2 separate regions of the Homo sapiens genome follow, and region 2 is linked to region 1. The links are contacts of gene promoters, found by promoter capture Hi-C in human tissues and cell types (Jung and others, 2019). All regions are on one chromosome and are shown on one strand. Each heading gives the region's core, a stretch centred on a gene start or on the middle of the fragment in contact. The rest is flanking DNA. Distances are from core to core; before and after follow the strand shown.

Region 1 (6,296 bases), core at 1-2,500:
TTCACTGACGGCTTGCAATTCCTCCCCAAATCCCATCCCCAGGCCTTGCTGGCCCTTGCAGAGGCACTGATACCTGTTTCACTGCCACTGTCCGGGTCTCAGGATCTGCGACCAGCTCCACTGAGGATTGGAGGGGTGGAGTCAGGATTTGCATCCTTGTGTGATTGGGTCCCTCATTTCTGGGGAGTGTGGCCTGCTTCAGGCTATAGCATCCAGGGAGTAAGAGGCAGTTTATTTCTACATGGGATTGGCTCCTTGACATGCAGTAGCCAGATAGTGGCACTAGGATTGCCTGACACTGGTCCTTGCAAGGGACAGGGAGGTACTTTTCTCTACAGAATTGGTTTCCTCCTTGACAAAAAATGTGGCTAGATATAGGTCCGGGGCTTGGCCTGTTACCATCCATCCCAACCTAGCGACATTTACTTTTCTCCACAGGATCATTTTTCTCTTGACGAAGGTCGTCGCCTGTTTCTGGATTTCCCGATGGCCTGAGCATCATCCGCGCAGTGAACATCCTCCCTAAATCGGCTCGATCCCCTCTCCCCCAAAGGATCTAGCTAATTCTAAATCAAGCACAAACTTTATCTTCCTGTACTCCCTAGAGAGCACCTTCCGACTTCGGGGCTGGCTGCACCACTGCAATCCCGCGTAGCAGCCAAGCGTCCCTCTGGATTGTTCCCGCTTTTGCAGCAGGCCACACCCCCTCCAGCTCAGGCCCCGCTCACCTTGAGTTCTGGAGCACTTCCGGTCCGTAACCTGGGTCAGGGGTCCCCTGCCCAGGACCAGGGCTTGCCCGTCCGAGGGCAGGAAGATGGGGGGCGCTCCCCCAGGGGGGCTCTCGAGCCACAAGCGGCCCGGGGCCTCCACCTCGCCCATCCTGGGTGCCGGCCTGGGGAGCAGGTAAACGGGCTTGAGCGGCGCACAGCCCCAATTTGCTGCAGGAAGTCCCGCCTCCTCCCACATCCACTAGAAAGTTTCCCCACCATTAACTGCTCCGGAAGTCCCACCCGCTCGCCTTCCGCGGGTCGACCCGTTTCCCAGGCGACGACGCGTGCTCCATCCCTCCCCGAGTTGCAATCCCCACTTTCCAGCGTACAGGCAGAGAGCCTCGCACATGCCTCCGCCCCGCCCCGTACTCACCCGGGACCGCGGCTTGGGCTCACGGCCACTTCCGACCAGGGAGGTCCTGCCCGAGGTGCCCCGCCTGCAACCCGGCCGGCGGCGGTCGGTTCCTCGGCGGACGGAAATGACTCGTCCCCTCGTGGGTGGGGGGCGGGGCCTGGCCTCCTCCCACAGCAGCCACGCCCCTTCCCCGACTCCCGGCCCCCAGGGTCTCTCGGCAGCCCTGACCTTCATCTCTCTTGCTGCAACGCGAGGCTCAGGCCGGTAGCGGGGACTGGATCCTCCGTTAGCAGATTTGCCTCTTTCCACCTTGACTTCTAATTTTCATCCCAGGGAGGAAGATTTTTTTCCCATCTGATGGTCATTGTCAGTCGAGGAAACCTCCGCCCCCGACAGCGCCCCTAAGTCCTTCTTTGGCTTCACCCTCGATGTTCTAGTTTCCTCATCTATAAAAAGGATAATCGTTTCCGCTTCGTGGGGTTACCATGACGATTAAAGGAGCTAACACGTGACAAAAGCTTTAAAAAATGGGTGGTAGTGAGCCCTGTTTAAGTCTTTTTTTTTTTTTTTTTTTGAGACGGAGTCTCACTCTGTCGCCCAGGCTGGAGTGCAGTGGCGCGATCTCGGCTCACCTGCAAGCTCCGCCTCCCGGGTTGACGCCATTCTCCTGTCTCAGCCTCCCGAGTAGCTGGGACTACAGGCGCCCGCCACCACGCCCAGCTAATTTTTTGTATTTTGAGTAGAGACGGGGTTTCACCGTGTTAGCCAGGACGGTCTCGATCTCCTGATCTCGTGATCCGCCCACCTCGGCCTCCCAAAGTGCTCAGATCCGTTTAAGTCTTATTTAGTGTTAGCATTCTTTCGGTAGTGGTCTGGTGGGACTACGTTTACCTAGTCCTAATTTCGGACGAGGTTCCACCTGCTTTCTAACCTCCAGCCATTTTTTTTTCCCTTTGGAGAAGGGGTCTCACTGTGCTGCCCAGGCTGATCTCGACCTCCTGGTGTCATGTGATCCTCCCGCCTTGGCCTCCCAGCGTGTTGGGCTTATAGGCGTGAGGCACCAAGCCCAGTTGCTCCAGTCCTTTTATAATAGAAGACTCCCGGCTGGAGTTCCTGGCTTTGCTGGTGAATATGTGGGCTCTGTCTCCAACACTCACCTCCTCAAGATTGGGTTCCATGGTCACATAAGACTGGGATGCTCTCCTCCACCCCATGAACCTGTGTCTTCATATCTATAAAATGGGCACAAAGCCAGGCGCCGTGGCTCACGCCTGTAATCCCAGCACTTTGGGAGGCCAAGGCGGGTGGATCATTTGAGGTCAGGAGTTCAAGACCATCCTGACCAACATGATGAAACCCTGTTTCTACTGAAAATACAAAAATTACCCGGGCGGCAGTGGCGCGTAATCCCAGCTACTCGGGAGGTTGAGGCAGGAGAATCGCTTGAACCTGGGCGAGAGTGGGACCCTGTCTCAAAAAAGTAAATAAAATGGGCACAGTAATTCCAACCCCCAGCTATTCACTGATAATCAGACGCTGCCATTCGGTTTCAGAAAATGTTGAATGAACACTCACAACACACTTCACATTTATCTCAGAGGTAAAACTCTTTAATCTCAGAGCGCCCCTCCCAACTGCCGATCCCCCAACCCCTCACTCTCTCCCCCACACCAGGGCCGGAGAGTGAGGGCCCCTGCCCCCCACCTTGGGTGGACGAGGGCCCTTTAAGGCACCTGTGGAGGTGGGGGGCGAGGGGCGGGAGCTGGTACCATCCTGGATGCAGGGACGGGCTTCGATTGGCAGGCTGTTGTGGGGATGGATGGAACCAATGAAAGGGGGTGCCAGAGGCAGGGACAGTTTGGGGCCATCCCTGAGGGGGTCAGGGAACAAGTTGTCGGGACGTGGGCAAAGACGACCCCAGTCCCCGTAGTGTAAAGAACGTAAATTGAAGGCCCCGGGCCAATTCTGGGAAGAGGAGGGCTTGGCCACGCCCCCAGGAAGCTGGAGCCAATTGGGAGGGAGAACTCAGGAAAAGCGGACGGTGACTATGTAGAGACTGGTCAAGCCCTTTACAGGATTTGAGCCAATCAAAAAAAGAGCTGTCCAGCGACTAGGGGATGGAGCCAATGCCGTGCGAGCAAATCCCTTGTCGCTAGGCGGAAAACAAAGGAGTTGACCCATTTAGAGCTTAGAACTCAGCGAGCCAATCCCTTAATAGAAGGAATCTGTCGCTAGGCGGAGAGAGACGACAGACCCAATCGGGAAACGGGACAGATGCCGCTCCTCGGCGCGGCAGGTCGTGGGCTGGAAGGACGGCGGGGATTGGCAGAGGCGGGACAATCTTGGGAATGGGAGACGCAAGGAGGCCGGTCCCGGATCGGCCTCAGATTAGCAGGCCCCGGGAGTGGGGCGGGGGCGTAGTGTGGGACGGGGCGGACGCGGCCCGGGGCGCTCCCTCCCTGGACTTCAATATTTCCGCTTCAGCTTCTGGAAGTCGCTGGTGTTAAGCCGCGGCCGTGGCAGGTCCCCGAAGACCTGGGTGTCCTCGGCCTCTCGCAGCACCAGCGCGCGCATGCTCGCCGCGATGCGGTCCAGGTCGGGCGAAGAGGGCTGCGGGGACGGCGACGGGGCGAGGTCAGCGCCGGCAGGGCAATCCCCCTGCACCCACACGCGGTCCAGGGGTGCACCCGGGCTCCAAGCCCACTTCTAGCACGTCCCTGCCCTGCCACCTGTGCCCTGCGATGCCCACTGCCAGCAGTGCCCCTCCCCGTCTTGCTCCACGTAGGAACCCTTCTACCCGGTTCAGACACCTCCTCCACGAAGCCTACCTGCCCCTCTCCCTCTCCCCTTCTTGGCCTAGGACATTGCTTCCTACACAGTGGAAGTGCTGTTGCCTGCTAGCCATTAAGGCTGAGTGCACCGTCTCATGTCTGAGGATCTGGGCTGGGGTTTCAGTCATGTTCCAATCAGACCTCTGCCGCTGACAAACTATGAGCAAGAGGTTTTGCTTCCCTAGGCCTCAGTCTCCCCTTCTGAAAAATGGGGCGGATAACAGGGTCTCTGTGAGGGCTGAGATAATCAGCTGTTACTGCCTTATCATGTGGCCACTGCGCTACAGAAAAGATCCCTCGCTGTGTCAGCCCCCGCCAAGGAGCCTGCAGTTCTGGCACCTAGTACTGCCTCCACTACAGCCCCCGTCACCCGGAGCTGGGCCTGTCCCCTCGCAGGATGGGACCCGGAGACCCAGATCAGGAACTGGACCTGAGCCCAGTGGGAGACCAGCCCCCGGGCACAGCACGCAAGAGGCCAGAGCATTCAATTAACTGTGTTGCCATGAGTCGCAAGCACAGAGAGCAGCAGCAGGTGGACCCCGCCCGCACCAGGCCCTGTTCCTGGTCTTCAGTGCTCACTGCTTCATTGAGGGAGGATGCACAGAAAAGGTCACCACTGTGACTGCTGGTTTGCATATAAGGACACTGAGGCTTGAGGGGGGGACTGTGGGGACCCAGGCCTCCTCCCTCAAAGCCCACAGCTCCTTCCTGAAACACACCTGGGTTCCAGTCCCAGCTCTGCCTCTCAGGGAAGTCACATGTCCCCTCAGTGCCTCAGTTTCCCCTCTGCTTCAGGGAGGCTCAGTGAAGGGTGAGGAGGACCCACCTAGGCCAGCAGAGCCCAGCCCAGGAGCTTCAAACAGGGGTTGCTACAAGGGGTGAACAGGGGACCAGGGGGTGGGACAAATTCTGCAAAGGGCTAGGAATGTGCAGGGTGGGGATGGGAGGTGATCTGAACCCTCCAAGCCTCAGTTTCTCCACTGGAGGGCATGCCAAAACACCTGTGCCTTGCCCAGAGCAGGTGTTCTATAAATAGAGACGCTCCTGGAAAGGAGAGGCCTTCTCTATAAGGCACTAGGACACATGGTAAGGCTGCAATTGTTAAAACTGCAAGGCTCGTGTCCAAGAACTCGCCTCTTGAGGTTGAGGGGAGGATTCAGTTAGCTTATGGGTGGAAAGCAGCATCCATGCTGGAGGGCTTCCTGGAGGAGGCGGCTCAGAGCCCTTCCAGCTGCCCTCCCTACCTCCCCACATTTGCCCCTCACCGGCCCATTCTCCTCATCTGATGACCGCGCCTCTGTCCTCTTCTCCTTGAAGCCCCAGACGGGCACAGACACAGGCAGGGACTTGGCGTACTGCTGTGTGGGTAGGGCTGAGGCTGGGGGCACTGAGCAGGTGGGGGGGCCGGCGGGGGTCTCCTCGCTCAGGCTGCCATCTGAAAGAGAGGGTGGACTTCAGCTTCTGTCCCTGCCTTTGTGTCGGCCGTGTGCCTGCCCTCAGGTCGGGAGGGGAACAGCCTGGGACACTCACCATCTGTACTCTCGGGGTCTGACTCACAGAAGGGGGGAAGGTCCTGGAGGGTGGCGTCCTCATCCATCACAAAGAGCCCTGTGGATGACCTGAGTTAGAGGCCCAGGCCAGGCAGCACCTAGCCATGCTCCATGTGTCCTCCTCCTCAGCCACGGCCACTGCCACAGCCACCACCTCCACCTCCCTGAAGCTTCTGAGACCCATTTCCTTCACCTCAAAAACAACTTCCTCTAGCAGCCTGCCTGGTCATCGGCAAAAACCAACCCAGTTTCTATGGATCTGCCACCCTCTCAGCTGCACACAACGGGCTGCTAACATGAAACCTCTACGATCTGTTCGGGACAATGTGACTCAAAACACAGCCTTAGAGAAACATGCAATGACTATGACCTCTGTTTCACAAATGGAGACCTGGAGGCCCAGAGAAGTTAAGTCACTTGCCCGAGGTCCCATGGCTACTAAGGGACACCACCAGGATTTGAACTCAGGATGCCTGCCCTTCACCCTACACGGGTTTTCTCCAGCAATGGTGAGGAGGCCTGCCATTGGTAATAACAACAAACAAGGACCTCCTAGTGACTGATCAAACTCCTACTAACTCCGCAAAGCCCTAGCGTTACAGTCCAGCCTCCGGGAAGTGCCCGACCCCCAAATTCCCCCCAAAACAGCTGGCTGCTCCCTCCCTGGCTTCCTCAGATGTTGGCTGCATCCCAGACAACTCTTTAACTCCTGCTTGGCCTCCCAGGCGTTGTGGAAACGACTCTGGTTCTACCCATGACCTGCCCCAGAGCCTCCCAACCCCCACCGGGA
Region 2 (6,388 bases), core at 1,721-4,220, 660 kb after region 1:
AAGCTTTTATTGATCCCACTCGTGACTATCCAAACATTTCATTCTAGAAATTCCCATGTTTCAAGACCACTAAGATATTATAAAACCTATACTATCTATTACTATGTTTCTAATATCGGAATGTCAAAACGCATCAGACCTCAAGAGTTTCACACGAAGGATGATGAATTAGGCCCAGGGAGGTGCAGTGACTTGCCCAAGGTCACACAGAAGTGGACAGCAGAGTTGGGACTGGATCCAGGCCCTCTGGTTCCAGAGTCCTGGCTCTTGACCTCTGACCCTGGCTGCCGCCTCTCAGGGCTGGAGCTGGGGTCCACGGGAGGGGCAGTGCTGGGTCAGAGCACGGGAGGCAGGAGCTCACAGGGTCCTCACTACTGATGACCACGCCGGGTGCACTGAGGCCCAGAAGGCCACACAGCCATTGGATCATATCTGCAAAGCCCAGATAGTGGTGTGTGCCAGGGAGAAGGGGACGGACACTGGGGGAATGCGGTGTTACAGTATTAACGGAGGAAACTGAGAACCTCAGATGCATCCTGTGTCATCACAAAGAAGCTGAAGAATTAGGTATCAGAGTATATGCACCAAAAGAAAAAAGAGAAAAAGAGGCCGGGCGTGGTGGCTCACACCTGTAATCCCAGCACTTAGGTAGGCCGAGGCGGGCAGATCAGTTGAGGTTGGGAGTTTGAGACCAGCCTGGCCAACATGATAAAACTCCGTCTCTGCTAAAAATACAAAAATTAGCCGGGGGTGGTGGGGGGTGCCTGTAATCCCAGTTACTCGGGAGACTGAGGCAAGAGGGAGGCGGAGGTTGCAGTGAGCCGAGATCGCGCCACTGCACTCTGGCCTGGGCAACACAGTGAGACTCCATCTTAAAAACAAAAAAGAGGCCGGGCATGGTGGCTCATGCCTGTAATCCTAGCACTCTGAGAGGCCAAGGCAGGTGGATCACCTGGGTCAGGATTTCGAGACCAGCTTGGCCAACATGGCGAAACCCCATCTCTACTAAAAATACAAAAAATTAGTCAGGCATGGTGGCAGGTGCCTGTAATCCCAGCTACTTGGGAGGCTGAGGCAGGAGAATCTCTTGAACCCGGGAGGCGGAGGTTGCAGTGAGCCAAGATCGCCCAGTTGCACTCCAGCCTGGGTGACAGAGTGAGACTCTGTCTAAAAAAAAAAAAAAACTGGAAGGACATACTCCAAGCTTTTCTTAGTAGTGAACTTTATCTGTTGGGAATTATGGACAATTTTTATTCTTGTGTGATATTTTTTCCTCAATGAGGAAAAATTACTTTTACAGTAAGCAGGAATAAAAACAAAACCAAACCCAGATATACCTGAGAGGCAAACAGCGTAAGAAATGGTAGAATCTGTGGCATAGGCAGAATCATAAAATAATAATAATGTATGTCGGTGCTGTCCAATAGAAATAGAATGTGAACACGTGTGTAATGTTTGTTTGGTTGTTTTGTTTTAAGACAGAGTCTTGCTGTGTCACCCAGGCTGGAGTGCAGTGGCGCAGTCTCGGCTCACTGCAGCCTTGACCGTCTGGGCTCAAGTGATCTGCTCGCCTCAGCCTCCTGAGTAGCTGGGACTACAGGCACGTGCCAGCACACCTGGCTAATTTTATTTTATTTTAATTTTTTGTAGAGATGGGGTCTCCCTATGTTGCCCAGGCTGGTCTCAAACTCCTGGCCTCAAGCGATCCTCCCGTCTCAGCCTCCCAAAGTGCTGGGATTATAGGTGTGAGCCACCACACCCAGCCCACATGTGTAATTTTAAATTTCCTAGAAGCCACATTGAAATAATAATAAAGAAAAAACCAAACAGGTGAAATCAACTTTACTAATATATTTATTTAGCTCAACAGGTCCAAAATACTCTCATTTGAACCTGTCATCAGATGCAAACTTGCGATTGAGCCATTTTACACTCTTTATGGTGGAGCTTCGAAATCCAAGGAAACCCAACATGTGTTTTACACCCAGGGCGTCCAGGGCACCTCTCAGTAGCAACGCATGCAGTCCCCGAGCCCAGCCAGCAGCCCCGATGCTGGCGGCTGCCCTGTGAGATGCTGCGGGTTTACTCGGTGCCCAGGGACGCTCTGTGGACACAGTCACCTTTTGTCCATCCAGCAGCCCTAAGAACAAGGACTGTGATCGCCCCGTTTTAGAAAGGAGGAAACAGGAGCCTAAAGAAGTGGCTTGCTCCATGGCAGAGCTGGGCAGGGCTGGCCGGAGCCTGCGCCCCTCCCCGTCTCGCTCGGCCACCTCACACCCACCCATCGCCGTTCCCCGTGGACAGACACGGAAACAGAGGTCACGGGTGTAGTGTGAAGAGCAGAGCCCTGTTCAAATCCCGCCTCCCCCGTCCTGGTTGTAGGGCCTGTCACTTGAGCTCTCTGTACCTCTGGGCTCACTCTTACCACGAGGAGGATGATGAAAAGCACTTCAGAGGGTGAGGGAGAGGAGATGAGGTCCCAGTGTTCAGGGGTGCTCAGCACGTCGTCATTCTCATTGTTATCGTTATCGTTGGCGTTGAGAAACTTGTACCATGCCCTTGGGATTACAGCCCTGAGCCGTCCACTGAAAGGCGGCTCTTAGGGCCAAGAACCGTACTTTTTTTTTTTTTTTTGAGAGGGAGTTTTGCTCTTGTTGCCTAGGCTGGAGTGCAATGGCGTAATCTTGGCTCACTGCAACCTCCACCTCCCGGGTTCAAGTGATTCTCCTGCCTCAGCCTCCCAAGTAGCTAGGATTACAGGCGTCCTCCACCACACCCGGCTAATTTTTGTATTTTTTTTTTTTTTTTTTAGTAGAGACGAGGGTTTTATCATGTTGGCCAGGCTGGTCTTGAACTCCTGACCTCAGGTGATCTGCCCAACTCGGCCTCCCAAAGTGCCGGGATTACACACGTGAGCCACCCTCCCCGGCAAGAACTGTCTGACTGCATCCTTTCCCGCAGAAAATCAGGGCCGCCCCCATCCTGGCCCCCTGTCCTCCGACTCCCTGTTCCAGCCTCTCCTCTCCATGCCAATGGCCCCAGCTGCACCTCAGCCCTCTGCCTCTCCCACCAGGCCCTAGAAAGGTCTGTTTAGGCAGGGCGCATGCCTGTAATCCCAGCTATTTGGGAGGCTGAGGCGGCAGAATCGTTTGAACCCAGGAGGCGAGGTTGCGGTGAGCCGAGATAACGCCATTGTACTCCAGCCTGGGTAACAAGAGAGAAACTCAGTCTCAAAAATAAAATAAAATAGAAGTCTGTTTATACCCACAGATCCCCTGTCCCTCCCCTGGGCCCTTCACAATCCTCCCAGGACTGCCCGTCAGTCCCAGCATAAGACTCTCCCATGCCCCGCTGTGCTGCCACCAAGGCGACAATGACAGTGAGAGCCCATAAGACACAGTCTCTGCCCTGGAGCAGCTCATCCGCCTGGCACCACCTTCTCCTTCCTCCTCTACTTGTTTCCCCCACCTCCTGTTCTGGCAAGTCCCTGAGCCCAGCAGACACACTCTTGCCTCTGGCCTTTGCACCTTTCCTGCTTTTTTCCTGGATACCTCCCTGCATCTGTCCTTCAACACCTAGTTCCAGGGTCACTTACACAGGAGGATGTCCTGGTCCCGTCTCCCCACCCCAGTCTGGTCAGGGATCCCCGGGGCTGGGTTCCCTGGAGCCCAGAGTCCAGGTGCCTCCAGGGAGGGCAGGGACTGGGTCCCAACCACAGGGCGTCTTGCGCAATGAAGGACTCCACCGCCTCAGAGTGAAAAGGATAGACGAAGGATAGGCGCAGTGGCTTACGCCTGTAATCCCAGCACTTTGGGAGGCCGAGGCAGGCAGATGACTTGAGGTCAGGAGTTCCAGACTAGCCTAGGCAATAAGGTGAAACCGTGTTTCTAAAATTAAAAAAATTGTTAAAAAGTAATATATACTCATTTAGGAAAAAATGTATGAGAAGAAAATAAAAATTGGCCAAAATACATCTACCCAGAGCTAATTTATGTTAATCATTTGGCACATCCTTCCAATTTTTTCTATGCATATTATGCAGGGATATATTTTTTCATTATCTTTTACTTTTTTTTTTTTTTTGAGATAGAGTCTCACTCTGTTGCCCAGGATGGAGTGCAGTGGCACAATCTTGGCTTACTACAACCTCTGGCTCCCGGGTTCATGCAATTCTCTTGCCTCAGCCTCATGAGTAGCTGGGATTACAGGCACACGCCACTACGCCCGGCTAATTTTTGTATTTTTGTATTTTTTTTTTTTTTGAGACAGAGTCTCGCTCTGTCACCCAGGCTGGAGTGCAGTGGCACAATCCCGGCTTACTGCAAGCTCCGCCTCCTGGGTTCACGCCATTCTCCTGCCTCAGCCTCCCGAGTAGCTGGGACTACAGGCACCCGCCACCACTCCCAGCTAATTTTCTGCATTTTTAGTAGAGATGGGGTTTCACTGTGTTAGCCAGGACGGTCTCGATCTCCTGACCTCGTGATCTGCCCGCCTCAGCCTCCCAAAGTGCTGGGATTACAGGCATGAGCCACCACGCCCGGCTGTTTTCTTTCTTTTTTCTTTTTTTTTTTTTTTTTTTAGTAGAGAGGGGGTTTCACCATGTTGGCCAGGTGGTCTCGAATTTCTGACCTCAAATGATCCACCCGCCTCAGTGTCCCAAAGTGCTGGGATTACAGGCATGAGCCATTCATTGTGGCTTGCTTTTTTACAAAATTTTGATGATACAATATACTTGCCTGGGTCCTGCATTTCCCCTTAATAACATTGTGAGTATTTTCTTACATCATGAATAGTGCTTCAAAGACATGATATGAACGGCCCTCTAGAGTACTGGCCCACGGCTATACCTACGTATGGACATTGATCTGTAATTGACAGGGTGATCTTTCCTTTTCTTTCTCCTTTCTCTCTGTCTCTTTCCCTCCCTCCCTCCCTCCCTCTTTCTCTCTTTCTTTTCTTTTTTTCTTTTTTTTTTTTGAGTCTCGCTCTGTTGCCCAGGCTGGAGTGCGGTGGCACGATCTCAGCTCACTGCAAGCTCCGCCTTCTGGGTTCAAATGATTTTCCTGCCTCAGCCTCTGGAGTAGCTGGGACTACAGGCACGCACCACCACACCCGGCTAATTTTTTGTATTTTTAGTAGAGACGGGGTTTCACCGTGTTAGCCAGGATGGTCTCGATCTCCTGACCTCGTGATCTGCCTGCCTCGGCCTCCCAAAGTGCTGGGATTACAGGCGTGAGCCACCGTGCCTGGCCCTCTCTCTCTCTCTTTCTTTCTGACAGGGTCTCCCTCTGTCACTCTGGCTGAAGTGCAGTGCTGTGATCATAACTCACTGCAGCCTCAACCTCCTGGGTCCCAGTGATTCTCCCACCTCAGCCTCCCAAGTAGCTGGGACTAAAGGCACACACCACCATGCCTTGCTAAGTTTAAAATTTTGTAGAGATGGGGTCTTGCTGTGTTGCCCAGCCTGGTCTCAAACTCCTGGCCTTGAGCAATCCTCTTGCCTCAGCCTCCCAAAGTGCCGGGATTACAGGTGTGAGTCACTATGTCTGTGCTTGATTTCTTCTTTCTTTTTTTTAGATGGAATTTCACTCTGTCGCCCAGGCTGGACTGCAGTGGTGCGATCTCAGCTCACTGCAACCTCTGCCTTCTGGGTTTAAGCAATTCTCCTGCCTCAGCCTCCCGAGAAGCTGGGATTACAGGTGTGCACCACCACGCCCAGCTAATTTTTGTATTTTTAGTAGAGACAGCATTTCGCCATGCTAGCCAGGTTGGTCTTGAACTCCTGACCTCAAGTGATCTACTCGCCTTGCCCTCCCAAAGTGCTGCGATGACGGGCGTGAGCCACTGCGCCCGGCCGATTTTTTTCTTAATAGGCTTCTGCCTTGTCTAACTTCCCAGAGTGAACATGGCTAGCTTTCAGAACTGAATGAGACCTCCGTGAATGCTATTTCACAGGCAGGAGGGTGTGAATGTATTTGCAGGGAGCTGGTGGGGGCTCAGCCTGCAGGACACAGCCTGAGGATGGGCTCGGGCAGGCCTTGTGGGGCAGGGAGAATGGCGGAGTACAGCAGGAATGCCTCTGCAGGTGCGGGTCCTGAGGGTCATTTGGGTCCCAAGCCGGCCTGGGGTCTCTGCACCCAGCCGGAGATGCGACTGTGCCTGGGCATGAGGCTGGGGGCTGTGGGCATCGCCTGTCCAGGGCAGGAGAAGCAGGGGCTTGAGAATGTCTCTGGCCTGACTGGGCTAGAGCTCTAAAACTCCCCCCTCTGCCAGGGGACCCCCCCAGAGCTTGCATTTCTTCCTCAGAGAGAGTATCTGGGGAAGAACCCAACCTGGAGCTTCTCAGAGCCGGTTCTCAGAGCTCATTTCCCGGGACGCTAAACACCAA

Evidence for each region. Contacts are between HindIII fragments. The study calls those that stand out against the background at their distance.
Region 2: a fragment that was not itself captured here is called in contact with the fragment with the promoter of PNKP in region 1 in 1 of the 25 tissues and cell types used here (dorsolateral prefrontal cortex).

Annotation. Positions count from the first base shown.
Region 1 is chr19:49,866,326-49,872,621 of GRCh38, forward strand. PNKP (polynucleotide kinase 3'-phosphatase) reads right to left here and starts at 1,251. Exons shown (of 17, transcript NM_007254.4): 1 at 1,144-1,251; 2 at 729-892; 3 at 74-120. The coding sequence starts at 879. It overlaps AKT1S1 (AKT1 substrate 1), which reads right to left. Exons shown (of 5, transcript NM_001098633.4): 3 at 5,487-5,564; 4 at 5,222-5,391; 5 at 2,714-3,735. The coding sequence ends at 3,592. RefSeq lists enhancers at 1-706, 707-1,488, 3,687-4,334 and silencers at 648-1,017, 1,088-1,387, 3,462-3,771. The HindIII fragment of the contact is 3,630 bases long and covers 30-3,659 here.
Region 2 is chr19:50,522,789-50,529,176 of GRCh38, forward strand. All of the region lies in intron 2 of LRRC4B (leucine rich repeat containing 4B), which reads right to left. All of the region lies in intron 1 of LOC124904747 (a long non-coding RNA gene), which reads left to right. Among named protein-coding and RNA genes, the nearest start is that of ASPDH, 12 kb to the left of the region's middle. The HindIII fragment of the contact is 7,994 bases long and covers 1-6,388 here.